6 separate regions of the Homo sapiens genome follow, and regions 2, 3, 4, 5 and 6 are each linked to region 1. Evidence: promoter capture Hi-C in 16 types of primary human blood cells and fetal thymus (Javierre and others, 2016). All regions are on one chromosome and are shown on one strand. The core of a region is centred on a gene start or on the middle of the fragment in contact, and the rest is flanking DNA. Distances in the headings are between cores, read along the strand shown. Region 1 holds the start of FHIT (fragile histidine triad diadenosine triphosphatase). Region 2 overlaps CFAP20DC (CFAP20 domain containing). Region 3 holds the start of KCTD6 (potassium channel tetramerization domain containing 6). Region 4 overlaps CFAP20DC-DT (CFAP20DC divergent transcript). Region 5 holds the start of PSMD6 (proteasome 26S subunit, non-ATPase 6). Region 6 has its middle 3.1 kb from the start of RPP14.

Region 1 (4,560 bases), core at 350-2,849:
AAGCATGTACGTTAATACTTGGAACACCGTATACAACAATCCCATATCTAACACTTAGAACAGCATATGCAATCAATAACAACACACACACACACACACACACACACACACACACACACACACACACACACACACACAAACCCTAGACTTCTTTCTTTACTAAATATTTCTAGTCCAGGTTGCAGCAGGTGGACACAGGCCGGCAGCCATGAACGCAGGTCCACATGGGAGTTGTAGTTCCGAGTCAAGCGGCTGCTCTACAGAACGGCTAGAAGCGAGACTTCGTCTCCCAGGAGACATCTCGCCGTGCAAAATGGCACGCCACGAGGTGGAGTACCTGCCCGACGAGAAACAAGAGGCGGGACTGCAACTCCCAGAAGCCTCCGCGGCCAAGGCCTCAGGCCGCAGGCTGAAGCCAAGGAGGGAGAGTTCAGGTAGATCCGGCTTAACATCAGGTGCGAGTAGGGACCACCCTTGGTAGTCTGGGCCCGGCCCAGGTCAGAACCTTACTAAAACAACCACTGTGAGTATTTTCTATTGGTCCCAGCACATTTCTGAGAGACCAGAATAATAATAGCAGTAAATCTGCAAGTGGTAAACTTTCACAAGCATAACCTCAATTTAGATTTCGGCTTCAGGCAACATCCTTTGGCCACTTGACCTGGGAGCATTGAGCTCCTTGTTTCCCAGATAAGCGCTGTGAGTGGCTGTTCCAAGGTAACACAGCGAGGGCAGAATGTGAGCCTACAGAGAAATCTGCAGATGCATCTCAAGTTCCACTAACCTGCCTCCTTACCCCCCACCACCACCAACTTGGATATACCTTTAAAATTCCCCCCTTTGACGCTAAAAATAAAAACAACAACCATAAAATAAGTGTAAGAAAGTCCGACCAAGTACCGATGAGTTCTCCCACAACAATAAATTCGATGCCTCTTTGCCTGTTTTTGAAGTAGTAATGTAAAATTATCTCCCAAAATGCTGCCTTCTCTATACTCCGGTTTGCTCCTGTCCTGGGCACGTGTTCAGCAACCCCTTAGGGGAATCCAGAGCTGCGTGTTTAACACAGACCTGTTGGGACGGATTTTCGCTACTTGTCTATGAAACTGACGAACCATCCCAAAACGGCGGGTGCCGACTACACCCCCAGAGCCAAGAGCTGTGGCGTCCCCGGACCCGCTGGCGTGGCCCCGTGCCTCAGTTTCCCCAATGTATAAACACGGTGGAGGAGGAACGGGTTAGGGCTAGGGTCGGTGCTTGGGAATTGGGGGGCCCGAGTCCCCACCCTGAGACCCTCGTGGGGCGGAAGAGTACTCGGGACAGAAGCCCACCGCCCCGTGAGCGGCGCCGGCCCCACTGGGCTCCGGGGTGATGACCTGACGCGCGTGGAAACCCAGACCCGCGCCCCAGAAACAGTATTCCACTTGGGCTTGCCTCCCCGCCCCTACCTTCCAGGATGTTGACAGCTGGGAATGAAAGGCAGAGGGAGGGAGCGCGGGGCCGGAGCGCCGCCTGGGAGTGTGCCCACTGGGTGGCCGCCTGAGGGACCCGGGAACAGAGGGCAAAAAGTCCTGTGACCGGACAGAGCAGAGCGGGGACTGCAATTCCCAGAAGACCCCACGGTAGGGGCGGGACCCAAGATGGCCGCTTGTCTGGGGACAGGAGCGGAGGCCAATACGCGCAGAGCATGCGCCTACGCCGGGCCAATTGAAAGCCATAGTGACAGTAACCCTGATTCAGGGGCGGGAAACACTGACCACAGAAGACAAGTTGAGGTGAGAATCCCCTTACAAGGGGGTTTGGGGCATAAATCGCACAATCTTTGGCTTTTTCTAACTAGAAAAAGAAACATGATTCTTTTCACGTGTAACGAAAGGCTGTACCGCACTTTTGCTTTTTTCTTTCCTCCCAAAACGCGTTTAACTATCCCTTCACGACTTCCCACTGGCTGGATTTCTTTTCGTTTCATTTCCCCACTCTGGATCTTTCTGGATTCCTTAAGCCTTCTTTTCTTTATGTGTCTCTCAGAAACACAGACTTGCAGTCCCTGGCTTGATCCATCAAATAATGTGGTCATTTACGACTACGCTCAGCCCTCCCTGGCATCCTAACAAAATTGCACCACATGCGCCCCTTCTCTTTTCCTTTCTGTCTTTTCTGTGCTGTTTTTCTCCTTAGCATTTGTCGTTACGAAGCATTGTATAAAATTTACGTATTTATCTTTTTTACCATCTTACTTTCTCACTAGAATGCAAGATCCCTGCAGATGTGGATTTTTGTTTTGGTCACTGTAGTCTTTCTAGCACCTAGAAAAGTGCCCAGCACATAGTAAATACACCGTATTTTCAATAATTGAACGAAATCTAGAGTGACCTTTCTCCCCTAGTCTCCCTTTCTCTGGTGCAGATCAACCCGTTTCTGACCACCATGGTTCCTTGTGCTTGTTCCCCTGTTTAATCCAAAATCATTATTGATGTATTCTGTGCCAAATGCCATGTGGGTGCTGGAGAAATCATTGATTCAGACCCAATTCCTAACCTCAAAATGCTCTGTCTAGTGACGTATGAAAAGTAAAATTAATTTTACAATAAATGCAATTACAAATTGCAGAACACCTACGTAATTTTCACAAGGTCATGCAGCTCCTAAGCAAGGACTAGATTCCTGGCTGCAGACTCTTGCCATTACATCGGGAAAAACAAAGAGCAGTTTTCTCTCAGACAAACACTAAGATAGGTCCCCATTTTCCTTAGCACCATTTCCTTTCTCTGTCTCTCACTTTTTTATTTGGCCTGATTCATTACATGCAGGCAATTACATCAAGTCTTAGATCTCTCATTATTTCTAATATTTGAATCCCATGGAGAGTAGCAAGGTGTCCTACAAAGTGTCCTGGTGTGAAAATCTGATGTCCTTGGAAGCTTGACTCTCAGAGAATGTCACATTGGATTATAGTTCATCACACAGACACCATGGCCACATAAAATATTATCAAATTGTGAATAACAAAGTGAAATTGAAAAAAAAAATATAGTTAAAACAGCAGGAATGTGAGCAATATATGTACAGACTGATTTTGTGCATAGAGATTAAAACACCTGTTCAGGCTTCCTAGCCTAATCTTCTGTCAATTTGGGGTCATTTCCTGTAATACAATTCTTTGTTGCTTTTATGAGCACAGACTTAGCTCAGCAGTCCCAGCTATTCTCAAGCTGATCGACATGAGAGATTTCAACACATGTGTCAGCAGCCAGACTAAACGTGGAAGAAAATCAGAAGCATTTGAAACTGTAAAGCTCAATAACTTTCCTCCTCCTGAGAAAGCATCAGCCTATAATCATTACATCTTCTACTTAGCAGTCAAAAGGCAAATGTCATGAACATACTCAGGGTCTAAACAGTGGTGTCTAATGATTATTGCACTGTTGTCAGATAGCCTAATATGAGCACATAGGTATTACTTCAGCTGTGGATAATGCTGACTGCTGGGCTCAAGGTCACCCACGACCTTGAGCAACAGATACATTCACAAAGAGCATGAAGACATAGAACTTGCATTGGATTCAGGACCTTCAAGTGCCAAGACAATCAGTGGGAGGTTACTGTCTGATCTGCAACTTGACTGAATTAATAACCACCTTAGTATGGGTTCTCCCAGAAGCAGATCTGGAGACAGGTATTCAAGAGCAAGTATTTTATTTAGGAGGTTATCGCAGGAAACACCAGTAAGAGACTAAGAAAGTGAAATAGGGAAGAGAAGACCAAAAAGATGCCTTATCTAGCACATTACCGCTAGAGGCACCCAGAACTTAATCCTCCTAGAAATCTCTGGGAAACAATATGGAACATGTACCTTAGACTGAGTGATTCCACCAAGAGGACAAGATAACTGGGTTGTTTAAACACCAACTACCGTCAGTCAATGATTGGGGGCAGCTTTCAGGGATTATTAAGACCCTGGCTTGTCTGCAATGCTCCAAGAGTAGACAGAGTTGCCTCAGTGGCCACAGAAAGCCAGAGATAGAAGAATTAAGAGTCACATTGGTATACGCTGAAATAGTAAGGGAATATAGCATACTGGCGGGGCACCAATAATATCTGCTACAGGTGGCTTTGGTTTACCACAAGCTCATGTCACTGAAACTAACAGAATAAGAATAAGTCAGAAACTAAGTAGATAAATACAAAAAGCCCAAGCAGCCTACCACCTTCTATCACTCATCAACAATTAAGATAGATTGTACTTTCTAAATCCTCACTAAGACATACAAACCAAACAATAGCAGAAGCCTCATTTACACTGGGGAATAGGAACTCTTTGGGCATTTAAGGAGGGTGCTTTGGGAGCTTTGGGGCATGGTAGTGCAAGGAGAAAGAAGATTAAGAAAAGGGGAAAAGGACATTTAAAGAAACGTGTTAAAAACATTGTGTTTTTCATTTTATGGTCTTGAAACATGAGTAAAGGGTGTGGATATTTTAAGAAGGTAGCATCAAGATCTGGGTGACTTTTAGACCCAGAAGACAATTTTGTGAAAGACTTCTGTGGATTGTGCCATTATA
Region 2 (4,755 bases), core at 91-2,590, 2.2 Mb before region 1:
TTAAATGTGTCCACAATGAGATGAATAGAGGATCATATTTTCATTTAAACCTTTTGTTAATTAACATATATTTAATTAATTTAATGTTCACTGAGAACTGATAGCTTTTATTCCCTATTACTAGCTTCATCTGGATTAAAAATATTTGCAGAGAAACCAGTCCCTACAGCATTTTTGACAGCTAAATTCTACAACTGCTTAAAAAATCAATTGATTTTATATTACCTCTCCAGATCTGTTCACTTAATGCCTTTCCTCTTAGGTTTTGAACTTTTGCTTGATCTCTCAATTATGGTGCTCTTAACAGATGTTTTTAGTATGACACTTCCTAAAACATGCAATTTACAAACATATTTTCCTGCTGTGGGACTTTTTGGGTAGAAAATGGAGATGTCTTGATTTATCTGTGAACCTCTCCTACAAAGCCAATAGTACAGACCAACACGTGGATTAAAGACAAAAAAAAGGCAACTAGTCTAAAACTCATGCTATTTTATATTATTCCAACTTAGTACGCTTAACAAATTAAGGGATTTTAAAGTAACAACACGTTTTTGGATAGTCTATATAAAGAACTTCTGGTATATGATTCCCATTTTGCAACATTCCTGAACAACTTATAACAGTTCCTATGTTTTATCCCAGATTTACATTCTAAACAATAAACATATTTGATCAAATATGCATAACATTTTTATCAAACATACAGGGATAACCTTTACTTAAAAGTACTAAGCTTCTGCTTAGTACTCTCCAGAGGGCCATCAGTAGTGTAAGCAATGTAACAGAAATAAGAGATCACAGGCCTTGATCCTAGAAAATTCTCTAGAAATCTGACTTTACCATATTTATGGGAAAAGCCAGTGAGGCAAGCAGAGCTCTGGTCTACAAAAGCAAAGTGAGATACCAAAATGAGGCCAACTTAAATAAACCATCCTCAATGAATCTCTCTTGCATCTTGCATTGATTGGCCCCACAGTATTTTTCCATTGCACAATGGCCTCTGTAAATAGAGCTGAGAGAACAGCAGGATAAGTGAAATCAGTCTTTAAAAAAGGTCCCTAATTTATGTCACAAATCTCACTGAATCAGCACTGTTCTCTTCAAACACAAAGAGTTACACACATAGGGCATTTTTATATGAGCATTTTTAGATATAAAAGAGTTCTTACCCTCAAAAAAAGAAAGTTTTGTAATTCAACTTTCTCACATATAGAAGCCCCAGTTTCCAAAACGTTTCACTTCTAAGATTAAAAGAAATATTATGATACCATATGGTGATGATCTGACAAAAAAAAAGTACTTTAATAACATTTGACACAGACTGATCCTGTGTGTCAGATGCTAAATAAATTCTATAGTAACATTTTTTTCCAGTGGCTTAGTATATTTAAACTGACTATTCATGTCTACATTATATTTAAAATCACTCTCTCTAAGTAATGTTGAATGTGGAAATTCTGTTAGTCAAAAATGTCCATCAAGTACATAAAATTCATAAAAATTTAGTTTCTTCCTGAAATATGCAGCTTTTTACAGTTTTATAATCTGTTGTCTGTCAGAAACAAACTACCTACTTTTTTTCTCCCACTTCAACACACAAAACAGGAATTAGTTATCTGTTCATCATGGGCTATTCCATATCCCTTGAGCAAATTAGAAAACCTGTGTGGGCCCTTTTACTTTTCATCTGTAAAAACTGGGTTAATAGTTTAGATTTACAACTCATAGGATTATTTATATGGATTAAATTAGGTCTACCATGCAACGAAGATTACTGAGCACCTACTACGTACAAGACTCAATGCTGAAGTTTTTGCAGTAAATAAGACATACATGCTCTCTGACCTTTTAGAATTTATATTCTAGCTCCATGAAGGAGAAAGTCAGGGTGCTATGAAAGCATATAACCCTGGGTCCTTGCAGGAGAAGAGGATGATTAGTGAAGCTTTTCTTGAAGGACAAGCATTGAAACTCAGCTGGGATGAATACACAGGAATTGACTGGGCAAGCGGGATGGGTGTAGGAGAGAGGAACAAACGTTGCTGGCAGAGGGAGTACTCCATCCTATGATGGAAAAGGATGGAGTAGATTGGATAAACCTAAAAAGGGCTTAATGGGCTGATAGGAGAGACAGAAGAGGAAATGCAGCAGGAGACGGGTTTGGCAAAGTAGAGAGGAAACCAATTATGTGGGGTCTTGAAGACCATGTGAAGAATATAAGTCATCCTAAAATCAATGGTAAACCCCTCGTACATTAATTCATTTATTCGACAAAGATTTACTGAATGTCTATTCTCGGGGGTAAATGCTGTAGGTAGAGGGTACAGTCTGTGCATGGGTGCCAAGGTGATAGTGCACTGGACTATGTTTCAAAACAGCAATGGGACCTGTATGGTTGCAAAAGCACGAACGAGAAAAAGAGTAATAGGAAATAGGTCAGAACTAAGAAGGGCACCAGATACTGCAGAGTCCTGTAGGTTTTTGAGTTTTAATCTGAGAGAGATGGGACATTTTTAGTGGAGGAGTAACATTACTTATGTGTTTCTTACAATTTAAAAGTATTACTCTGGCTGCTAATTTGACAATAGACTGTAATACAGAGGCCAAGTCAGAAACAGGGAGACCAATTAGGTTACTACAATAATCCAAGCATGAGATACTGGTGGCTTTGGCCAGTAGCACTGGAGGTACCAAGAAGTGATCAGACTCTCAACCTATTTTAAACATAGTGCCAACAAGACCTTCCAGATAGACTGAATGAAGAGAAAGAAAAATCAAAGCTGATTTAAAAGCTTTTTTTCTAAGCAACTGAAAAGATAAGTTGCTAACAGCAGAAATGGGGCAGCCTGCAGGAGAAGGAATTTCGAGGAGTAAAGACCAGAAGTTAGGCTTTGGACATATTGTATTTCAGCTGTCCAAGCGTAGAAATGTCAAGTAAGTAAGATGATATTCAAGAAGTCTAGAGTTAGGAGAGAAGTCTGAGCTGGAAATGTAAGCTAGAGTAAGACAGAGATGGCATTTAAATCCATGAGCTGGAAGCTGATAACCAAGGGAGTAAGTGTAGATAGAGTGCCAACGACTGAGTCCAGGGACGCTGCAACATTAATTCAAGTTGGGGAAAAGAGGAAGAACCACAAAAGGAGGCTAAGAAAGAAGAACAGTGAAATGGGAAGAAAACTAGGAGTATGGACATCTTGGGTATGAGTGAGGAAAATATAAGAAGGAGGTGTCAACTTTCTCAAATGATGCTAATATGTGAAGTAAGATGAGGGCTGAGAACTGTCCACCGGATTCAGGAAAATAGAGGCAGATCAAAGCCACTGAGGGGTTTTAAACAGAGGAAGTCATGACAAGATAAAAATGATACTAAAGTGGGGGCTTGAGGAGGCCTGGGGAAACCTCATAAAGGTGACCTCATCCTCCAGAGCAGCTGAAATGCAGAACAATGCCAGGCTTCAGGGATGCTACTCCCCCGAGACACATCATTTGATTCAGATGCCACAGGCAGAGAAAACAATGGTTTCAAACATGAGCCTCCAACAGAAAGCTCTGAAGAAGACCCTCCAAATGACATATGTTTATGTGTGACAGAGCTGCTCCTCATATGGGCAACTCTACATAATGTGTTCCAGAGTGAAGAGCAGCAGGGATTTATTTATTTAGCTGGTGAAGAGTTTACTCAAGTCTCATTATCAAGGCCAACTGGTTACAATGAAAAATTATGACCCAAATTGTCATAGTTTCATAGTATGGCAAATTTAACAAACTTATTGAACACCAACCATGTACCAGGCACTGAGTTAAGGGTACAAAGAAGATGATTCAGGAAGATCCCTGCCCTAGAGAAGTGCACAATTCTGATAAGTAATATCACAATTTCCTTTATTTTATGTGTTTGAGATCCTCAAATACAAGTTAAATCAGAAATATTATTTTTTAAAACAAAAAACATACTTAATTTCATTACTAAACTTTCTTCCTAAGTAGTACCTAATACAGACAGAAACACAAATAGGGTACCTAATGTCAAGTTTGCATAAATAAAGTGGATGTTTACTCTTAAAATAGGAATACATAACGGTAATTGAATTTATAAATGTTAATTAAAAGCCAATTATCTATTCAAGGCATGTCATTCAATTTAAATTTAACCATACAAACTTCACATAGAAGGTCATTTTACACAAGTAAAAATAGCTATAAATTTCTGTTATCAAAAATTCCAAATAACCTTAAAGGCATCAGTGCAGGGCAGACTATATAAACTGTTTCATTTGTTACAGTGCTACACATGATATAGAAAAGCCAGATTAACTTTTAATTATAAGGCATTGTACAAGAAATACATTAAAAGATTTTTCTGTTTTTTTACAATTAAAACGATCATCTTTCCATTTAAAAAAGTAATTATGATACATTAAACTTGGTTTATTTCTTAAAAAAAAAACTTCAGATAAAAATGGAAAAGCAGAGCTTGTATTTAATCATTCAGTCTTTAGTAGAGAAGGAATCTATCTCAGAATCAAATGAGAAAGGTTACTAAAAGTGATTGATTTTTTTAATAAGGTAACCATGTGCATACATACTGAGGGCATTAAATGAAAATACAGGTGGGCTTTATAAGTTCAGAAAAAAACAAAAGAACTAACACTGGCTTAGAACAAAGTCATATTCCTGAAAGTCAAATGTATCTACATGTCTTACAAAACCAATATCCTTAAAAAGATGTCCTGTGCCTCTTGCAAGAAGATG
Region 3 (4,527 bases), core at 794-3,293, 2.8 Mb before region 1:
CAGTTATGTTGATGAAGCATATGTCATTTATTTAACCTATCAATTTGAGCTTTTGGAGACAAATCAAGTATCAGATATAACTGTGATGATCATGCTGATACAATTTCAACCCCAGAGCTAGCTCACACACATGCAGACGTGAAACCCAAGTGAGTTTCTAAGGCCAGTGGTTATTCTGGTGGAGAAGGTTAAACCCAGCATCAGGTAACTGGTCCCACCGGAAGGGGACAGTGGCCTGGCTAGCAGGAAGTGAATGGACTTGGAACGAGTGGACGGATGGAGACCAATTAGCCCTGAGGCGTTAGGTGCTGCCCATCCTCTGCAGCCTTGGCTTCCTTCCTGGTGAAGTGGGGACAATACCAGCGCCAGTCTCATCTAGGGTCGAGCTCCTCCAGGCCCCAGAGCCTTTGCATGGGTCGTTTTGTCTGCTGAAGGTAGCTCTGCCCTTCTCTCCACCTGGCTGCCCGTGTTGCTGAGCTTCTGGGCCCAGCAGCCCTTTGCTGTCTTGCCCGTCAGGCCGGACCAGACCGTCTTGCCCCGGTGGCCCCGGGGGCTTCTTCACAGGCCTCATCGCAGGGTTGTCTCCCCAATGCAGGGCAGGCAGGAGGAGCTCTGGCCGCAGGTCGGGGTCCAGGTCTTCCTCGGCCACTGCGTTTGGAGCAGGGGCTCCCTTCCCTTCTTCTCCATCTAAGTCCTCTAATCATGTCCCTCCCAACACTTACGGCCATAACTTGTCATTATTTTGTCTATTAGCTGTTTCCTTGAGTCTTGTCTGTCTTCTCCTTTGATTAGGACCCGCCTCCGTCTTGGTGGCCGCTGTATCTCCTAAACCCCCAGGCCTGAGATATAGTGGGGGGCCCATACAAGTTCGTGAAATGACTAAGGAGAAACAGCTGTGGAGGCACCACCCCTGAGGACGCAGTGGGCCTGGGGTTGGGCGGACCCCAGGCTGCGGGCGGAGGCGGGACGTAGGGGCGGGGTTTCGGGGCTTCGGAGCGGAGCCTAAGGGGCGGGACTGGGGCTTCGGGGCGGGGCTTCGGGGCTGCGGTCGTGTGGTCTTGACCGCGCGGCTCCGACTGCGCTGGCTGAGTTCCTCAGGCCGCCCGCTCTCTGGCTTCCAGCCCGCGCTGCCGTTAGGGGGCGCCCGCGCTCGTGGCGCCGCGGCTCTGCTGGGAAGGCGCCGCCCGCGCCGGGCAGCTGGAGCCGCAACTCCGGGCGCGGGCTCAGTCGTCCCCTCTGCCGCCGCCGCCGCCGCCGTCGCCGGGCGCGGGCTCGCTTGTCCCCGCGCTCGCGCTCTCCGGCCGCGGGCATCTCCCGGCCCGGCCGCAGCAGCCGCCGCCGCCGCGCAGTGAGTGGGGCTGGCGCGGGGCTTGCGGGGCCGGGGTTTGGGAGGGCCGGGTTTCAGGAGACGTCTGCGCCGAGCGGCCAGGGGAGCGGGGCTGAGGAGGATCTGGGCGGGGGCTCCTGGAACGGGGCGGCGGCGGGGCCGCGTTGAGGGGACCGCGCGTCCCGGGCTGGCACGAGCCAGCAGCGGAGGTGCCCGCGGCGGGGCCTGGGCGGGGGTTCCGGGGCCCGCCCGGCGGGGATGCGCGGTTTCTGCGGGCCCGGGTTCGGAGCCCCGCGGCGCGCCCCTCGTCCGGGCCCGGAGCATCGCCCGCCCTACCCCTGGCCGGGTCGGGTTGCGGGGGCTTCGCTGGCGGGGCAGCAGCGAAGGGCGGCCCGGACGGAGATATTTGGGGTGTGCTCGAAAATGATTGTTTTTGGGAGATGGCGCTTATTAGCCACCAATTGCCCTAGTTTAAAGCTTGAGGCAGGACTCAAAACCCTGCCTTTGGGATTTTCTGCCCTGAAGAGACTCTCAGATCGCAGCTGAGTTCTTTATGCCTAGATTTGTGTGTGTGTGGTGGCGTTTTTAATGCTTGATGTCAGAGGTGATAAATGGCCATGGTAATGGGGAGCCCTGGCAGCACCTGCTGGGCTGACAGTGGTGGAGGCTGTGTCTGGGGGTGGGACGGGGAAATGAAACGTGACAGAGATCCTGTTTGGATATTCTGCCGAAGTTACCATGTTTCTGTTCAAGTATACCAGTTCTAGAACAAGTTGATGGATCCAATTTTAGGACTTTGTGATAGAAGAGGTTTGGGTGGCAAAGTGACCTGGGATGACCCGGCTCGGCTAAGAATATTTGGGGTAGCCTAAGTATCTCTTCTATATCCCCCTGGCATGTTCTTTTTTTCGCTGTCACAAATGCCCTATTACTTGAATCATCCTGGGATAGGAGAGAAGCTTGGGGACAGCATGTAGCACAGTCCTGAGCCCAAGATTGAGATGTTTTCAAATGAACGAATATGTAGCTAGGAAAAGGAAAATGTGTTTGTCAGCAGGGTTGGTAGGTTGAGAGTATTTTCTCTTTGGCCGAAACCATCAGTCCATACTGATACTTGATTTTGTGCTATGCCTTAGATATGAACGATGGAGTGGTCAGGATAGCCATGGATGCCATTCCAAAGTTTTGTGATTTGAATTTTCATAAATCATATTTTAACCAAAGCATTACTACTTAAAGGAATCTTAGGGTGAACCCTATGAATCCTTCAGTGCGCTTGGATTTTGATATTTGGGGTCCATTTAAAATGGAGTACCTGTATGTATTTGGATTCAGCTTTAACTTGGAGATAATCCCGAGTCATGCTTTAAAGAAGTTCCTTCTGAGATCAGGAGCTCAGGTGTTTGGTGAACTCTGGGAAAACTAGACACTCCCCTTTACCTGTATATAGTTCTCCCTTCTGGAGCTCTGGGAAAAGGAGGACCTGGGGAGATTTGAAGCAAATTAAGAGGCTGCCTCCTCCATATTTGCCGTCTCCAGGCCAATGCTCTAAATTACTTGTGTTCACACTCAAGTTTCTCATGTTAACCTAGAAATTTTGTTTATGCTGCTGCCACTAATGTTTTCACATTTGTCTAATACTTGCTAGTTTACAGATGGTTTTATATTCATGATCTCCCTTATTTTCTCCATTTCCCCAAAGAAGAAGCTGGGCATAAAGAGTGATTTTCTCAGGGTCTCATAATCAGTAACGGAGCAGAATTCAACTACAGGACCTCCCTGGGAACCTGTTCTCTTTCCTTGTCCTGATGTGTTACTCTTATAGGCCAATTTTTGCCTTTGTGTTGTGCCTAAATGGTGTAATTACCCCGTTTTGGGAAGGTGGTATTATCCCGTTTTATCTTGCGGAAACTGAGGGTTAAGAGGAATGTTATGATTTTGTGACTATTTGTGACAGCTTTTTAATATTAGGTCACTTTTAAACCTATAGCTTCTCTCTTCTAGACCACATGGTTGAGAAAGGAGAAAGAGAAAATGATTACTTGTAGAGAAAAATCCATTTCTGCAGTGGTATGGTTAAGGATAATCTAACCATAATCACATTATCCTTGTATGCCTGGCTACTTATGCTGGCCTGTATGTGAATGTTAACCCCAAAGACTCCTTTAGATGTCGCTGAACTAGTTACTATAAAAAGTATTTCGCTTTCAAACTCCCACATTTCAAGAAGAGCAAAACTCAATACAAGGCAATTTTGAAGGTAAGTATAGAAAGAGGGAGTTTATTGAGTCTTTTCTGACTACCAGACACGAAGGTTTCAGTAAAAAAGCATTTTTAAAGGGCTGCCTGGAAACTCTGGGAAGTCAGTAGTTGGAGTTTTTTATTATTCGTTGGAGGTTTTTATTGCAACATATAGGTAGTTATATAGGATTAGGACTTTTGCCCCGGAGAATTCTTAATCTATAGCAGGAATGATAAACCCAGAATATTTTTGTTAAGTTAGTTCATCATAACCATTAGGCCTGTAATTGCAATTCTGCAGTGATAGGGAGAATGGCATTTAAGGGTTCTTAGGTTATTTTTTTAAGTTATTAACTTACTGAATTATGTATGCATTTCTTCAGATATGCTACTTTAGAAAATTAATACTTCCTTTTAAGGTTTCTATAAATTCTTCAGTATGTGTTTTCTTAAGCTTAATTACCTGCTAACATGACACTGTCAGAATTTATACATTAGTCACAATAACCTTTGAAGCTTAAACATGGTTGAATTTTCAGCACTGCTTTATATTCTTTGGGGAGTGGGCAGTGTTGTTTTCACAAGAATTTTATTTGCATCAAAGGTTACATCTTTTCAGGTGAACTGATTTTTCAGGGTCAGAGGCTTCTTTGAATTTTATAGCTGTTTGTGCTCGGTTGCATTTGCTGTCTTTCAAAACCATCTTTAGTTTTAGTAAGGAAAGTCACTATAAAGGAAAAATTTTTTATTGTTACCATTCCTGGTAGATTTTCTGAAATATTAGATATTTCTTTGCTTTCATCAAGTAAAATAGGCCTATTTGATACCCATTTCAAGATCTTCCTTCTGCTGCCTGTCTTGTGGTCATTTAACTTCTCATTAAGCCCTCCACTGGAGACTGTGCCAGAAGGGAGAGAAGATGAAAAGCAAATGAATCATTTTCTAATTGTTAGTAGCTC
Region 4 (4,512 bases), core at 1,883-4,382, 2.0 Mb before region 1:
CTCTCACTTCAGCCTCCTGAGCAGCTGGGCACTAACATGCCCAGATAATTTTTGTATTTTTTGTAGAGATGGGGTTTTGCCATGTTGCCCAGGCTGATCTTGAATTCCAATATGATACGTAGAATATCTGTATCTTTTATGGATCTATTTCTATTGTCTTTTGTTATTTTGATTTTTAGCTAATATTTTGGCATGCTTTGTTACTTTTAATTGAATGCTGGTTGCTGTGTATGAAAATTATAGAGACAATTTATATCTGGATCATATCTTACTTTAGAGAGGATTTCTATTCGTTTCTAGCAGGTGGGTAGCATAGGAACATATTAATTTAATCCGTTCATGAGTTGAGTAGATTCAAAACTGGGGTTCAGTTTCTGTGAGGGCTGCTCTGTTTAGAGTTCATACCCCTAGTTACAGCACTTCAAGGGTAACAACTTAAAACCCAGGTTTTCACTTGAGCCTCTTCTCCTGTATGAACTCAATCCCCTCTTCACCCCCTCTCCCAAGCCTGGTGAAATTTCAGTATACTCTCAGCTCTACAGCCTTTCAGACACTACTTTCTGCACAGTTTTTCTCATCTCAGTTGTTCCTTAAAAATTTGCAAATGCCTCAAAGGGAAAAGCGGTGTCAAATACCAGTTCAATATTCTGGGTTTCTCCTCTCTCTAAGATCTTGGCCCTATAAATCCTATTTGAGCAGCTCTCTGATGTCTTTGACAGGTGTTTGCTTCCTTGTTTTAATTTTCTTCAGCCTTACTAATGGTTAATAGCAGTAAGTTTCATTTCAAATAAGCTACTCTGCCATTTTTGGGAAGGGAAAAGTCAGCACTGCTTAGATTTCTATGTTGTTCCCATTTCTGTTATTTTCTCATACTTTTATCTCTGTTTGATGGTAAAGAAAACAGAAATAGAAATTTTGCTTCAGGTTAAATTCCTAGTTAACGACCCAGCTGAATTAAGAATCCAGTTTTTGGACTACTGATACAGAATCTATTGCTTTCATCTGATATACACAGTAGAAATACTTCAGTCTTATCAGGAATCATATTCTTTTGATATTGCAGATTCTGCTTAGAAGAAGCATTCTTTTCCATCTATAAATATTTAAATTCTATTTATGCTGGCAAGCATGCTAGATTTTGTTTGGGCTCAAAAATTTTAAGTAATCCACACATATTGGGTACTTAGTTGGTCAGATATAGTGCCATGGATTTTATGTGCATCAACTCATTCAGTCCTCACGGCGACGCTCTCAGGTTAGATATTTTATCATCTTAATTTTGAGACAAGGAAGCTGTGTTTCAGAGAGGTTCATTAATTTGCCCAAGTCACACTATTAGTAGTGACAGAACAAGCACTTGAACCTGTGTGATGCAGCAGAATGAAGAGTGATATTTGGAGTCAGACAGACCAAGCCTAATATTCTGGCATTGTCGCTGATTAGCTGTGTGACTTGGAGCAAGGTCCTCTCTGAGTCATAGTGTCTTTTTTTTTTTTTTTTTTTTTTTTTTTTTTTTTGAGACGGAGTCTCGCTCTGTCGCCCAGGCTGGAGTGCAGTGGCGTGATCTCGGCTCACTGCAAGCTCCGCCTCCCGGGTTCACGCCATTCTCCTGCCTCAGCCTCCCGAGTAGCTGGGACTACAGGCGCCCGCTACCACGCCCGGCTAATTTTTTTTTGTATTTTTAGTAGAGACGGGGTTTCACCGTGTTAGCCAGGATGGTCTCGATCTCCTGACCTCGTGATCCGCCCGCCTCGGCCTCCCAAAGTGCTGGGATTACAGGCGTGAGCCACCGCGCCCGGCCCATAGTGTCTTAATTTAGTAATGATGAGACTTCAGTAACAATGCAGTGAAGAGAAAATAAAACAATGTATGTGAGCACACTTGGTATATGTGAGGCACTAAGTAACTACTAGAACCCTTTCATCCTTCCTGAACAAGGAACATTCCAAAAGAACTTTATATAAAACACTTGCAAAAATAAGATATATTTAACACAGCAACTCTGAGTGGTATTCTGTGCAGGTAGAGATGTGAAAACCACGTATCAGAGAAATTCACACTTGCCTCCAATTACACAGCTAACATGTAGAACAGATAAGCTTTGCTGATTGCAGTGTGCCTAGATTAACATCATATGTACATCCTCAAAATGGAGTTTGTATAAATTAGTTAATATTTCAAATGCACAAAACGAATCTGCTATTTAAAGGATCCCTGCAGTGAATGCTTTTGTAAAGTCAGGAATAATTCTGGAAACGTAAGTTATATCCTGCTAATTCATCTGTTTTATACATTCGGCTTTTAATGTTTTCTTAAAGTTAGTCGTATCTGATATTGACTTTACCATCCTCAAAATGTCTTTCTGTTGATAAGATATTGTTACTTCATTTCTAGAATCTAATTAAAGTTGATAGTACTCTAAGGGACAGCGAATGTCAAAATCCACCAGGGTTAATTATTTTGAATGTCTTTTAAAAGTAAAGGAACATAAAAAATCAATGAAACTGTGGTAGTAGAATTAAATTTTCCTGAGACTGTTTTCCCCAAACATATGATTTATTTGAACATTTGAATGTCTTGTTCAAGAGAGACATTTAGCCTATAGCAAATGTCCCCAACAGGACGCTGCTATGGTCACATATATTAGTTCAGCTGCCCTCCGTGCACAGGTAGGGCGGTCTTCTGGTCAGGCAGGTGTTTTGGGATATTCCTTGACTTTCATAAGAGGATGCTAACTCTCTCTGCCTGCATCCAGTTGACTAGAAGATTTATCTTCCAGGCTCCTGGAAGAGGACATACGCTCAAATTCCCCATTACCCTGGTCTTACCAAGCTCAGTGGCTTAACTATACTCACACTTATGAATGCCCAAAGGGTCTCTGTTCCATCCATTTTTCAAGATCAGTAGCGTCCAGGCTTTCTGCTCACAGAGAAGCAGAGGAAAGCATGGATGGTGCAACACACTTGCATGGCTGAGGGTGCTGGCTGTGTGTAATCTGTGGCACAGCGAGTAGGTGTCAATCTTGAAGTGCTGGCTGGAAATCCACCCCTTTCACTGACACTCACCTGCAGCCATCCATTGTATTGAGAACACCATCATTAAAATGATTGTATCTAAACTTTTACCATTTTATTCTTGGATGTTGCTGATCTTGCAGGACTGCATGGTTTTGACCCTTCATAAAATCACTCCCTTTGAATTGCTCTTTGGTGTTGGACCATAAGCCTACGTTGAGGAACTTTAAAGGAATAACCATGAGAAATGTACTATGTAGTCTAGGATGTTCAGTGGTGTGCAATCTGGTTGCTAAGCCATTATTAACAAATAAATTATATGAAGTTACCATTAAATACATTATATCAAAAAGAAAGTTAATAAATATGTAAAATGCATCACTTCCTAATTATTTGACTACATTTTACTCTTAACTATGCTCTTGAGGTTGTTCATGACTATTGTATTAGTGTGAAGGAAATGTTATATAAAGTAAGCCACTGTCCAACTGCAAGTTCAGAGGTGTCATGTTGGTAGCATGAAATTGGCCAAGGTTGAAGTATTCACACTATAGTGCATCGAATCAGCACCCTGCCCCACACCCCAAAACCCAGTTGTGAAATATCTAACAGCTCACTACTGTATGTTATTGAAGATATTATGTTACAGCGATTAAGAGAATCTATGGAAGAGATTCCCCTTAGGGCTCAAAAGCAAATAAAGATGTACTTCTCTTCAGGTACGTGCTTATTTTTATTTTTAGAACCTCATGCTTATTGCTAACAGTTATGTTTCATCTTCATGTTCACTGCTAAGTAGCTCAGAACCAAATCTTCAGCACCTTTTACAAAAAGAAATGTGTTCCAGGAACCTTCTTATTTCCTTCTTGTTGTTTTTATTTAGCCTCTTCCTTCCTTCCTTCCTTCCTTCCTTCCCCTCCTGTCCTTCCTTTCCTTCTGTTTCCTTTCTCTCTCTTTCTCTTTTCTTTTTCTCTTTCTTTGGTTCTATGTTGTTGCATTAATGGATTTCTTTTAGCTATCTCTAAACATGTTAAGAATGATGTGGGGGTATAAAAATAAGAAGTATACTTTAATGTGTGCAAATACTCTTAACAGTAATGGATTATTAAGACTTCCTACCTTATTTATAGATTTTATCTTGATATAATATTTAAGCTTTCTTCCTGCTTTAATATGAAAAAATGTATGAAGTTAGAATATAATTTAGAACGGCATATATGCTTCATTTATTAAGGGCCTGTGAAAAAATTCTTGGAGAGAAGAGTAGTTCACTTATACGTATTTATTATCTTTCATCCTTCTCTTGAATGTAAGTTCCAAGAGGACATGGTGTATCTTAAAGTGTTTAAGCTACATCTCACTGAGTTCAATGAGTATTTTTGAATGAATAAATAAATAATTCACAAATTTTCTAATGCTCAATGGTTATGAATATCATTCAGTTTTTAATGATGATATTATACAACATACATACACACATGTTTAAGAACTTTCATTC
Region 5 (4,327 bases), core at 1,638-4,137, 2.8 Mb after region 1:
ACCACGTCTTAAGTTTACAACCAGAAAAGAGAAAAAAACCTCGTTTTAGATATACATTGCAAAACAACATTTAGGCACTTACTATGTGCTAGGTACCAGTCTAAGCTTTTTCCTATCCTTAATCCACATTAAGTAAAAACTATCAGTACTCCTGTTTTACACATGAGGAAACCGAGGGTTTCATAAATCATAATTACCGAGGTTGAAAACAGAACCCAGACAATCTGATTCAAGAGCTCATGTTATTTTTATTTTTTATATTGGCACCATGTCATTCTATACCTAAATACTTCCAGGCAAATAATTTAAAATTAAAAACATTCAAAGCCCATTTTCTTAACCACTATTACACAGTTACTCAATTAAATTTCAAAGATCCAGTAATGGTGAGTACCCCTCTGGTGCCCTGATGGTGGAGTAAGCTGGCTGCTATGCAGAACAACTGGCCACACATATTTAAAAAAAAGAAGAAAAAAAAAAACTGTTCATTGTCCCGGCGATTTTGTTTCATATACTATACCCTAGAGAAACACTAGCATATACACACAGAGACATACATAAGCATATTTTTACAGCAGCAGTTTGCTAAAGCAAAAACAGATGAAAACAACACATATGTCCAACAACAGCTGAACAGGCAAATAAACTATGCCAGAGCTAGCTCTACAGTGGAACATTAGGCAGCAGTTAACCAGGATGAGCCAGATTTATGTATGTTGGCATGGAAAAGACCTCTTAAATATAATGCTGAATGAAAAGGGCAAACAGGACTACACTAATACACTATGATCCTATGTACTTAAAAAAAAAATTCTGTAGAATTAAAAATTTCTGCAAGTATTAACTTTTTTAAAAATTGGTTCTTTCATTGAGCATTTATATTCTTTTACATATAAAATTTTACGTAAAAAAGATTTTATGACCGGGTGCACTGGCTCACGCCTATAATCCCAGCACTTTCGGAGGCCGAGACAGGTGGATCACCTGAGGTCAGGAGTTCGAGACTAGCCTGGCCAACATGTTGAAATCCAGTCTCTACTAATAATACAAAAAAATTAGCTGGGTGTGGTGGCGCACGCCTGTAATCTCAACTACTCGGGAGGCTGAGGGAGGAGAATCGATTGAACCCAGCAGGTGGAGGTTGCAGTGAGCCAAGATCACTCCATTGTACTCCAGCCTGGGTGGCAAGAGTGAAACTCCGTCTCAAAAAAAAAAAAAAAATTACCAAAAAGTTTGCATAAATGCACAATAAAAGAACTGAAAAGCCTATCCCTGGGCAGGTACAGAGTAAAGAAAGATAACAGAACTTCAGCATTTACTATACTGTTTCTTAGTTTCTGCTAAGTATTACTCGTGTAAAGTACTAAAGACACCAGAACCAGTGCTTCCCAACCAAGTGAGAAAACTGCTGAAAATGATCCCAATTTTGTAAAAGCAGTAAATAAAATTCTCTAGATGTACACTTACGTTTTTATCGGCATGGGGTGAAATGGGGAAGAATACAGCCCTAGCTGCTGTTTGGGGAAATGACAAGGCATTTCATGGAGACGACTTTTTCATCTTTACATTGATTCACCAGTACAAGCAAGCATGATTACCTTTATACTTTTTCTAAAACGAAGTTAATTTTTTTAATGAGAAACGATTACCTGGAATAGTCTCCAATTTTAGCCTATACTAACTACAGAGAGGGAAAACCATCTCTACTCACTTTGTCACCTATCCGGCAGAGGTACTCGGCCTTTGCCATCATTGCATCGCGAATTTCGCTCTCTCCTAGATTCTTCTCTGCATCTTCCAGCTCCTCATCCAAACGCTTCAACTCATCTTCATTTGCCTTCTTCATTTTATTGAGTAGGTCCACGTCTATCTGCCAGTCGAGGGATTTGCACAAGGCTTCATAGTAAGGAGCCATGTCTAACATGCAAAAAGAGGGATGTGTGAGTGGGGACACTTGTGCCCTCAAGTCAAAGTCTGCCCACGTATTTCACCCCCCGCCCCGCCACAAGTCATCCACCAGTCTCTTCCCCACTAACAGGAAGGCATGCGATGGCGCTTAATAATCGGCTTGGCAAAACATAAACGTATGCTGGTGGGAGGTTTGCGTGACGGCCAATCCTGGCAATGCCAACCTCTACTAGGGCTGGAGGGAGGGCAATCCTCGGTTTGCTCTTGCCGGATTCTGTTCCAAAAGTCTTCAAACAGGGAAAGACTTTTTATACACACATACTCACATACATATGTTCAAACATACACATTCACTACAGAAGGGCCAGAAAGAACCGAACCCAAATTTCCCTTCCACAGGCAAGCTGAACTCTCCCACAGGAATACCCCGCGCCCGGGAGCAGTCCCCACTGACAGAAAGTCACGGGGCCTTTACTCTGTGCCTAGCACAGGGGTAAATATTAATGCCTCACGATTCTCCCCCAAGCTGCCCTTACAGGGGAAGGCGGCACAGAGAGATGCAGACCCCGCTGAGGCAAGTCGAGGTCCCCCAGGGTATCCCCAAACCAAAGCAAAACCCTAAGGGCCGGAGAAGCCAGGCCTGGTCTCTGAGACCCCGTCAGAGGGGTCTGGAGCTCCATCAAAAAAAGTCCCCGCAGGCTCCGGAACGCGGGGACGGCCCAGGCCTAGGCCGCTGACTCGGCGCTCGTGCGGGCCTCACTGTTATCGCGGACGGCCGCCATCAGCTCGTCGCGCACGGCAGCGTCTCCGCGGTGCTCGGGCAGGCTGAGCAGGAAGCGCAGCTGCGCGATACGCAAGTCGGGGTTCTTGGGCAGACCCTCCTCCTCCAGGTTCTCCAGCGGCATCGCGGCGAAGGGGACAGCGGCTGACAGGACACAACTTGGTTACGACCGGCTGCGGCAGCGGAAGCGGGAGGAGTCGGCGAATACGCCCGGCCGCCTGCGGCCCGGCTTCCGGTCCCGTCTCCGCCGGCAGCGTCCTCTGCTGGACACCTCCGGGAACGCCTCACCCGGCCTGGGCGCCTGCGCCCCTGTGTGGTCACGGGGGCTTTTCCACCCTCAAGGCCCCCTGCGGAGTCCCAGAGTGGGTGCAGCCCAACTCAAAAGCCCAATTTCTTGAATCTCTTTCTCACTCCCTTTTTAGCTATTTTACTTTCCGTTTGTAACTGATGGGAGCTTAAAATTTTTTGAAAACTGAAAATGTAATAACAGCATTAATAAAAACAATCACCATAGTTTGTCGAGTCGTTACTCTCATTCATCTTATTAAAATCATCTTCATGCTGCGAGGTAGTACTATTAGCCTATTTAGTAGGTAAGACAAATGAGGCACAAAGAGGTTAGGGAAACAGACCAACCAAGGTCATGTAACAGCCATGTCGCAAGGCCTAAATGAAAACCCCTATCTAGAACTCTAAAATCCACATTCTTTCTGCGGTTTTAAGAAGAAAAAAAAACTGCACCCAGGATTCTACGTCATAGTACAACAGCATCATCGTTTTGTTTACACATAAATTAAATCATTACATGCCTGCATTTTCAGCTTCCTTTTGTTCACATTGCTACAGATCTTCAGAGGTGGTAATCTTTACATTAAATTCCTTTTTTTTTTGAAACGGAGTCTTGCCCTGTCACCCAGGCTGGAGTGCAGTGGCACAATCTTGGCTCACTGCAACCTCTGCCTCCCAGCTTCAATCGATTCTCCTGCCTCAGCCTCCCAAGTAGCTGGGATTACAGGCCTGCACCACCATGCCGGGCTAATTTTTGTATTTTTAGTAGAGACGGGGTTTCACCATGTTGGCCAGGCTGGTCTTGACCTTCTGACCTCAAGTGATTCCCCCGCCTCAGTCGTCCAAAGTGCTGGGATTACAGGTGTGGGCCACCATGCCTGGCCTAAATTCCATCTAATGGATTTACCATAATTTACTTTCACTCTTCCCTCTGTTAGAGGTGTCTTTAGGTTGACCAGAGTTTTTACTTACCTAATATAAAAACTTGGATGAAGACTTTGGATGTCTAGATCACTTCATGTTTTGCATCTTTTTCCTTAGCATAAAATCCCATGAAGGAATAACGGACAAAGGGAAGAAGGATTTTGTGACTTGGGGATATTTAATGTTAAATGGTTTTCCAAAAGAGCTGAACCAGTTTACACAGCTGCTGAAACAGGTGAGACTGCCACATCTCACAGGCAGTAGGCATCATCACATAATTTAAATCTATTATTTGTTTCTATAAAAATGAAACAAGCATTTTGAAGACAACTCAAATGATAGAGAAAATATGAAGAGTAAAAAAAAAATACTATTAAATAGCTCTCCACCACTGCTAAACTTTTGGTAAAAAACTTTCTAAAATTC
Region 6 (4,540 bases), core at 664-3,163, 2.9 Mb before region 1:
ACAAATTAGCCCCGTGTGATGGTGCATGCCTGTAATCCCAGTTACTTGGGAGGCTGAGGCAGGAGAATAGCTTGAACCTGGGAGACAGAAGTTGCAGTGAGCTGAGATTGTGCCATTGCACTCCAGCCTGGGCAACAAGAACAAAACTCTGTCTCAAAAAAAAAAATCAAACAAAAAGATTGCTGAAAAAATGAAAGTCTCTTACACCCTCTGCACAGCCCCACCCTTCCCCCATCAGTCAGTCCACTGGGATTTCTGTGCATTTGCACACATACATACGGGTAAGAACTCCTGGGTTCAAGCAATCCTCCTGCCTCAGCCTCCAAAAGCACTGTGATTACAGACATGAGCCGCCGTGCCTGGCCTATCCTATATTTTTATTTGCTAAATCTGGCAACCCTATAGGTAGCAGCCAATGACACCTATAGAAGGCTTGGCCCCCTTGCCTCAAAGCCTAGAAGCTTCCTTAGTATCATTTATGCTCCAGGACTCCCCATGGGATCCAGCTGAGGCTAGACTCAGCTGAATCTGTTACTGAAACACCAAGTGTTGCTTCTAGGTCCTGCTGCTCACCAAAGAGAAAGCTAATCACTGAAACAATGAATATTGCCAGGGAAGAAGGCTTTCTTTGAGAGCTGCTGCTGTGGACATGGGAGATCAGTCTCAAATCCATCTCCCTGACTGACTAAAATTAGGAGTTTATACAGCAGAAATATAACAAATGCAGGAAAACAGGAATCAGGGAAGGATAAGGAAGGGGAGTTGGTCAACAGAAAGCAGGTCGTGGGAGACAGGCAGTCATGAAGGGTGAAGGGTCTGGACTGTCATTGTCCAAATGCAGTGATCTGGTGAGTTTCAGCTCCTTGATACTACCTGGGAAGCCTCATGGTTGGTTTACTGAGAAAGGAACTCAGATAAGACAAATGTAACTTCTCAAATTTTAAGATGAGAAGGTCAATCTCTACATATACTCAAAAGAAACCGTAAGCATCAGTTCTGTGGGATGATTGGACCGGTTTCAAATCCACATCTTTGCTTGGCTTCTTCTCCTGCCCTATCTTGCTTCCCTCCTCCCTTACAGATTTCACTTGGGGGCCATCTCCCAGTAAATCACTTCCGTGAGGGTCTCTCTCTCAGGCTTGGCTTCTAGGGATTCTAAAGCACTGCCTGCTTTTCAGAGTTTCTTGTTTGGAGATGACGCTTGAGTTGATGACACTTGAGTTGCCTCAAAGGAGCAGCTCCCAGACTGGTCTTCCACATGGGAGGGATGGAATGCAGCTTTTTAGGCTCTGGAGCCTCTCACCACCTTAGATAAATGACTTAGCTTCATTTTCTTCATCTGTGAAAAGTGGTAATTATAGTGACATTGCATGGTTGATGGAATAATGTGAGCAAGTTAGCTGGTACTTGGCAAATCTCCCTAAACTATGTGATCTTATTCTCGAAACAGAAACAATGGCTACAGTTCCATAGGTTTTAACTTCTGATCATTTTCACTTCCTTTGTCCTATCTCCACAATCTGCTGACATAGGGGGTGTTTTCCATTAAATCAATGGAGAACAGGGGGACTGGAATCTCACTTGGACCCTTCTCTCTTGCCTTTTCTTCCCCAAGTTGAGAAAGCTCCTCAGCTTTAGAAAAATCCATTTGGCACCAATAAGTAAGGCAGGGAGGGGAGCCACACAGCAGAGGGGAAGTGTGGACTTAACTCATTCTTGGCTGCCGTACCTTTCAGGGACATAAAATAGAGACCGACCCCAACAACTTTGCTCTGAAACACAGAGGGTACCTGAAATGGTCCTCTTAAGAACTAACTGGCTCCACCCAATGCAGTACAGGGTAACTTTCATAAAGACTGAGGCAGCTAACCTGGGCAACATAGCAAGATCCCCTCTCTAAAAATAAAAATCAAAAAAATTAGCCAGGTGTGGTGACACATGCCTGTAGTCCCAGCTCCTCTGGAGGCTGAGGCAGGAGGATCACTTGAGCCCAGGAGTTTGAGGCTGCAGTGACCTATGTTTGCACCACTGTACTCCAGCCTGGACCACAGAGTAAGACCCTGTCTCCAAAAAAAAAAAGAAAAAAAGACTGAGGCAGCCTTGTGTGTTTTGATTTGGAGCAATTTTAGATACATCGTCAAGAGGTAAAAGCCCCCATATCATATTTTTCAGGGGACACTTAAGAAACTCATACTAGTTGTTGCTCCTGGAGAGGGGAGAGGCTGACAGGGGAAGAGGTGGAAGGGAGACTCACTTTTTAATATCTATCCCTTTATGTCATTTGAAATGTATGCTGTAAGCCTACAGTACCTATTCAGAAGATAAAATTTAGGCATGGTGCAGTGCCTCACACCTGTAATCCCAGCATTTTGGGAGGCCAACGCAGAAGGATCGCTTGAGCCTAGGAGTTCAAGACCAGCCTGAGCAACATGGTGAGACCCTGTTTCTACAAAAAAATTAAAAATTAGCTGGCCATGGTGGCATGCACCTGTAGTCCCAGCTACTTGGGAGGCTGGGGTGGGAGGATCGGTTGAGCCTGGGAGGTTGAGGCTACAGTGACCCATGATCACATTATTGTACTACAGTCTGGGTGACAGTGAGACACTGTCCAAAAACGATTTTTTAATATAAAATTTAGTTGAAAAACAAAAGTTTTTTTTTGTTTTTTGTTTTGTTTTGTTTGTTGGCAGAGTCTCGCTCTGTCATCTCGGCTAGAGTGCAGTGGCGTGATCTCAGCTTACTGCAACCTCTGCCTCCTGGGTTCAAGCAATTCTCCTGCCTCAGCCTCCCGAGTAGCTGGGATTACAGGTGCGCACCATCACACCCAGCTAATTTTTGTATTTTTAGTAGAGACAGGGTTTCGCCATGTTGGCCAGGCTGGTCTTGAACTCCTGACCTCAGGTGTTCTGCCCACCTCGGCCTCCTAAAGTGCTGGATTACAGGCCTGAGCCACAACACCCAGCCAAAAAACAAGTTTTTTGTCTTTATCATTCAAAGGCATCTCTTTTATCCTCCGCTCTGAATTAATAAGACAGCATGAGAGAATTCAGGCAACTGGGAAGACACTTCATTTTCAGGGTTTGTTGCAGCAGGGTGAAAATTATCTATTGTTCCTTGAAGTTCAAAATACAGGAATTGCTCTGGTTTTCCTGGGCCACCTGGCAGGATACATTTGCCAGGCAGCTGGCTTACAGGAACCCTCTCCCATTACTGAGGGTTTCCTGGGGTGCCAGACACTTTATACCATCAACTCTTTTTCCCTCAACTCTGTGAGGTAGATGCTAATAATCTCTCCATGTGACAGATGAGGGAGGTAGGTAAGTGGCAGAGGATGCATTTGAAGCAAGTTCTGGCAGCTTCTGAAATCAAGCTTTTTTGAGAAAGATAATACTTGGGTCTGTGGGGTCTGTGTTTGCTTTCTCCACCTCTTCCCACATCTGGAACAAGCCCTGTCTCCTCTGAAGGAAGAAGAAAGTAGGAACCACAGAACTGGAGAGCATGGCCAAGGTTGAGGACTGAAGCTTCTGGAAACAACACAGTGGGATTTTGAGAAAATAATTGAGGAAGGAGATCCCCGCTGACTCAACTGTCCTGTGCAAGGCAACCCTTTGCCCCCCAACCCAAGCAAAACCAGCACATCCATTTATGAACAAATGCCTTCAGTAAATAGATGTTGGGTCACCATTGGGTACCAGGAACTGGGATGCAGTGGTGAGAAACACAGACAAGGCCCCATCCTCATGGGGGTTACACTAAAGTTTCCCTTCCCACTGCAGCCCCTCAATTGGTGGTAATACAGTGCAGTATGGAGAGCACTGGCTAGAATCAGACAGCCCATGCCACTGCTTATAACTGTGATCTTGAGCAAATAACTTAGCCTCTCTGTGCCTCAGTTTCTTTTCCTGTTGCCAGGCTAGAGTGCAGTGGTGTGATCTCGGCTTACTGCAACCTCTACCTCCCAGGTTCAAGCAATTCTCCTGCTTCAGCCTCCCGAGTAACTGGGATTACAGGTGTGCACCACCGTGCCCAGCTAATTTTTGTATTTTCAGTAGAGATGGGGGTCTCACCATGCTGGCCAGGCTGGTCTCGAATTCCTGGCCTCAAGTGATCTGCCCGCCTCAGCCTCCCAAAGTGCTGGAATTACAGGCATGAGCCACTGCGCCTGGCCTGTGCCTCAGTTTCTACCTCTAAAATGGTGATGATCATAGTAATAGCCATCTCAGGATTGTGTGAGGGTTCCATGAGATGACATATGTAAAATATTTTGCATAGTGCCTAGCACAAAGTAAGTCTTTACTTTGTGGGTCTTTCCAGGACGGCCTAGATAGAACACCTACTATGTGCTGGGAGTCACAAGGGACACTGAGAGTGGGTCCTATCTTTGGGGAGTGCTTGACATAGGAGATCTTGAGGAGAGGAGATGCTAGATATAATTTTGTAGGCTGGGCGCGGTGGCTCACGTCTGTAATCCCAACACTTTGGGAGGCGAGGTGGGTGGATTGCCTGAAGTCAGGAGTTTGAGACCTGCTTGGCTAACATA

The links. The method cuts DNA at HindIII sites, captures the fragments that hold promoters and counts their contacts. A CHiCAGO score of 5 or more calls a contact.
Region 2: a contact is called between a fragment that was not itself captured here and the fragment with the promoter of FHIT in region 1, in 2 of 17 cell types (total CD4 T cells and naive CD8 T cells). The highest score is 9.3, in total CD4 T cells.
Region 3: a contact is called between a fragment that was not itself captured here and the fragment with the promoter of FHIT in region 1, in 4 of 17 cell types (non-activated CD4 T cells, total CD8 T cells, naive CD8 T cells and 1 more). The highest score is 6.8, in non-activated CD4 T cells.
Region 4: a fragment that was not itself captured here is called in contact with the fragment with the promoter of FHIT in region 1 in 3 of 17 cell types (naive CD4 T cells, naive CD8 T cells and total CD4 T cells); the score reaches 6.6 in naive CD4 T cells.
Region 5: a contact is called between the fragment with the promoter of PSMD6 here and the fragment with the promoter of FHIT in region 1, in 1 of 17 cell types (total B cells). The highest score is 6.9, in total B cells.
Region 6: a fragment that was not itself captured here is called in contact with the fragment with the promoter of FHIT in region 1 in 1 of 17 cell types (non-activated CD4 T cells); the score reaches 8.4 in non-activated CD4 T cells.

What each region holds. Positions count from the first base shown.
Region 1 is chr3:61,249,853-61,254,412 of GRCh38, forward strand. It overlaps FHIT (fragile histidine triad diadenosine triphosphatase), which reads right to left and starts at 1,600. Exons shown (of 10, transcript NM_002012.4): 1 at 1,449-1,600. LOC124909387 (a long non-coding RNA gene) reads left to right here and starts at 1,740. Exons shown (of 2, transcript XR_007095939.1): 1 at 1,740-1,775. RefSeq lists enhancers at 189-468, 749-878, 1,019-1,148, 1,279-1,338, 1,403-1,697. The HindIII fragment of the contact is 4,935 bases long and covers 1-2,919 here.
Region 2 is chr3:59,040,137-59,044,891 of GRCh38, forward strand. All of the region lies in intron 3 of CFAP20DC (CFAP20 domain containing), which reads right to left. Among named protein-coding and RNA genes, the nearest start is that of CFAP20DC, 7.5 kb to the right of the region's middle. The HindIII fragment of the contact is 1,212 bases long and covers 735-1,946 here.
Region 3 is chr3:58,490,822-58,495,348 of GRCh38, forward strand. It overlaps KCTD6 (potassium channel tetramerization domain containing 6), which reads left to right and starts at 1,275. Exons shown (of 3, transcript NM_001128214.2): 1 at 1,275-1,348. RefSeq lists a silencer at 926-1,575. The HindIII fragment of the contact is 482 bases long and covers 1,803-2,284 here.
Region 4 is chr3:59,202,841-59,207,352 of GRCh38, forward strand. All of the region lies in intron 4 of CFAP20DC-DT (CFAP20DC divergent transcript), which reads left to right. Among named protein-coding and RNA genes, the nearest start is that of CFAP20DC-DT, 120 kb to the left of the region's middle. The HindIII fragment of the contact is 2,070 bases long and covers 2,098-4,167 here.
Region 5 is chr3:64,020,607-64,024,933 of GRCh38, forward strand. It overlaps PSMD6 (proteasome 26S subunit, non-ATPase 6), which reads right to left and starts at 2,888. Exons shown (of 8, transcript NM_014814.3): 1 at 2,669-2,888; 2 at 1,712-1,917. The coding sequence starts at 2,813. It overlaps LOC105377121 (a long non-coding RNA gene), which reads left to right and starts at 3,469. Exons shown (of 3, transcript XR_940906.3): 1 at 3,469-3,545; 2 at 4,019-4,136. RefSeq lists enhancers at 2,190-2,812, 2,497-2,846, 2,813-3,434 and a silencer at 2,997-3,096. The HindIII fragment of the contact is 6,204 bases long and covers 104-4,327 here.
Region 6 is chr3:58,300,847-58,305,386 of GRCh38, forward strand. No RefSeq gene overlaps it. Among named protein-coding and RNA genes, the nearest start is that of RPP14, 3.1 kb to the right of the region's middle. The HindIII fragment of the contact is 2,909 bases long and covers 460-3,368 here.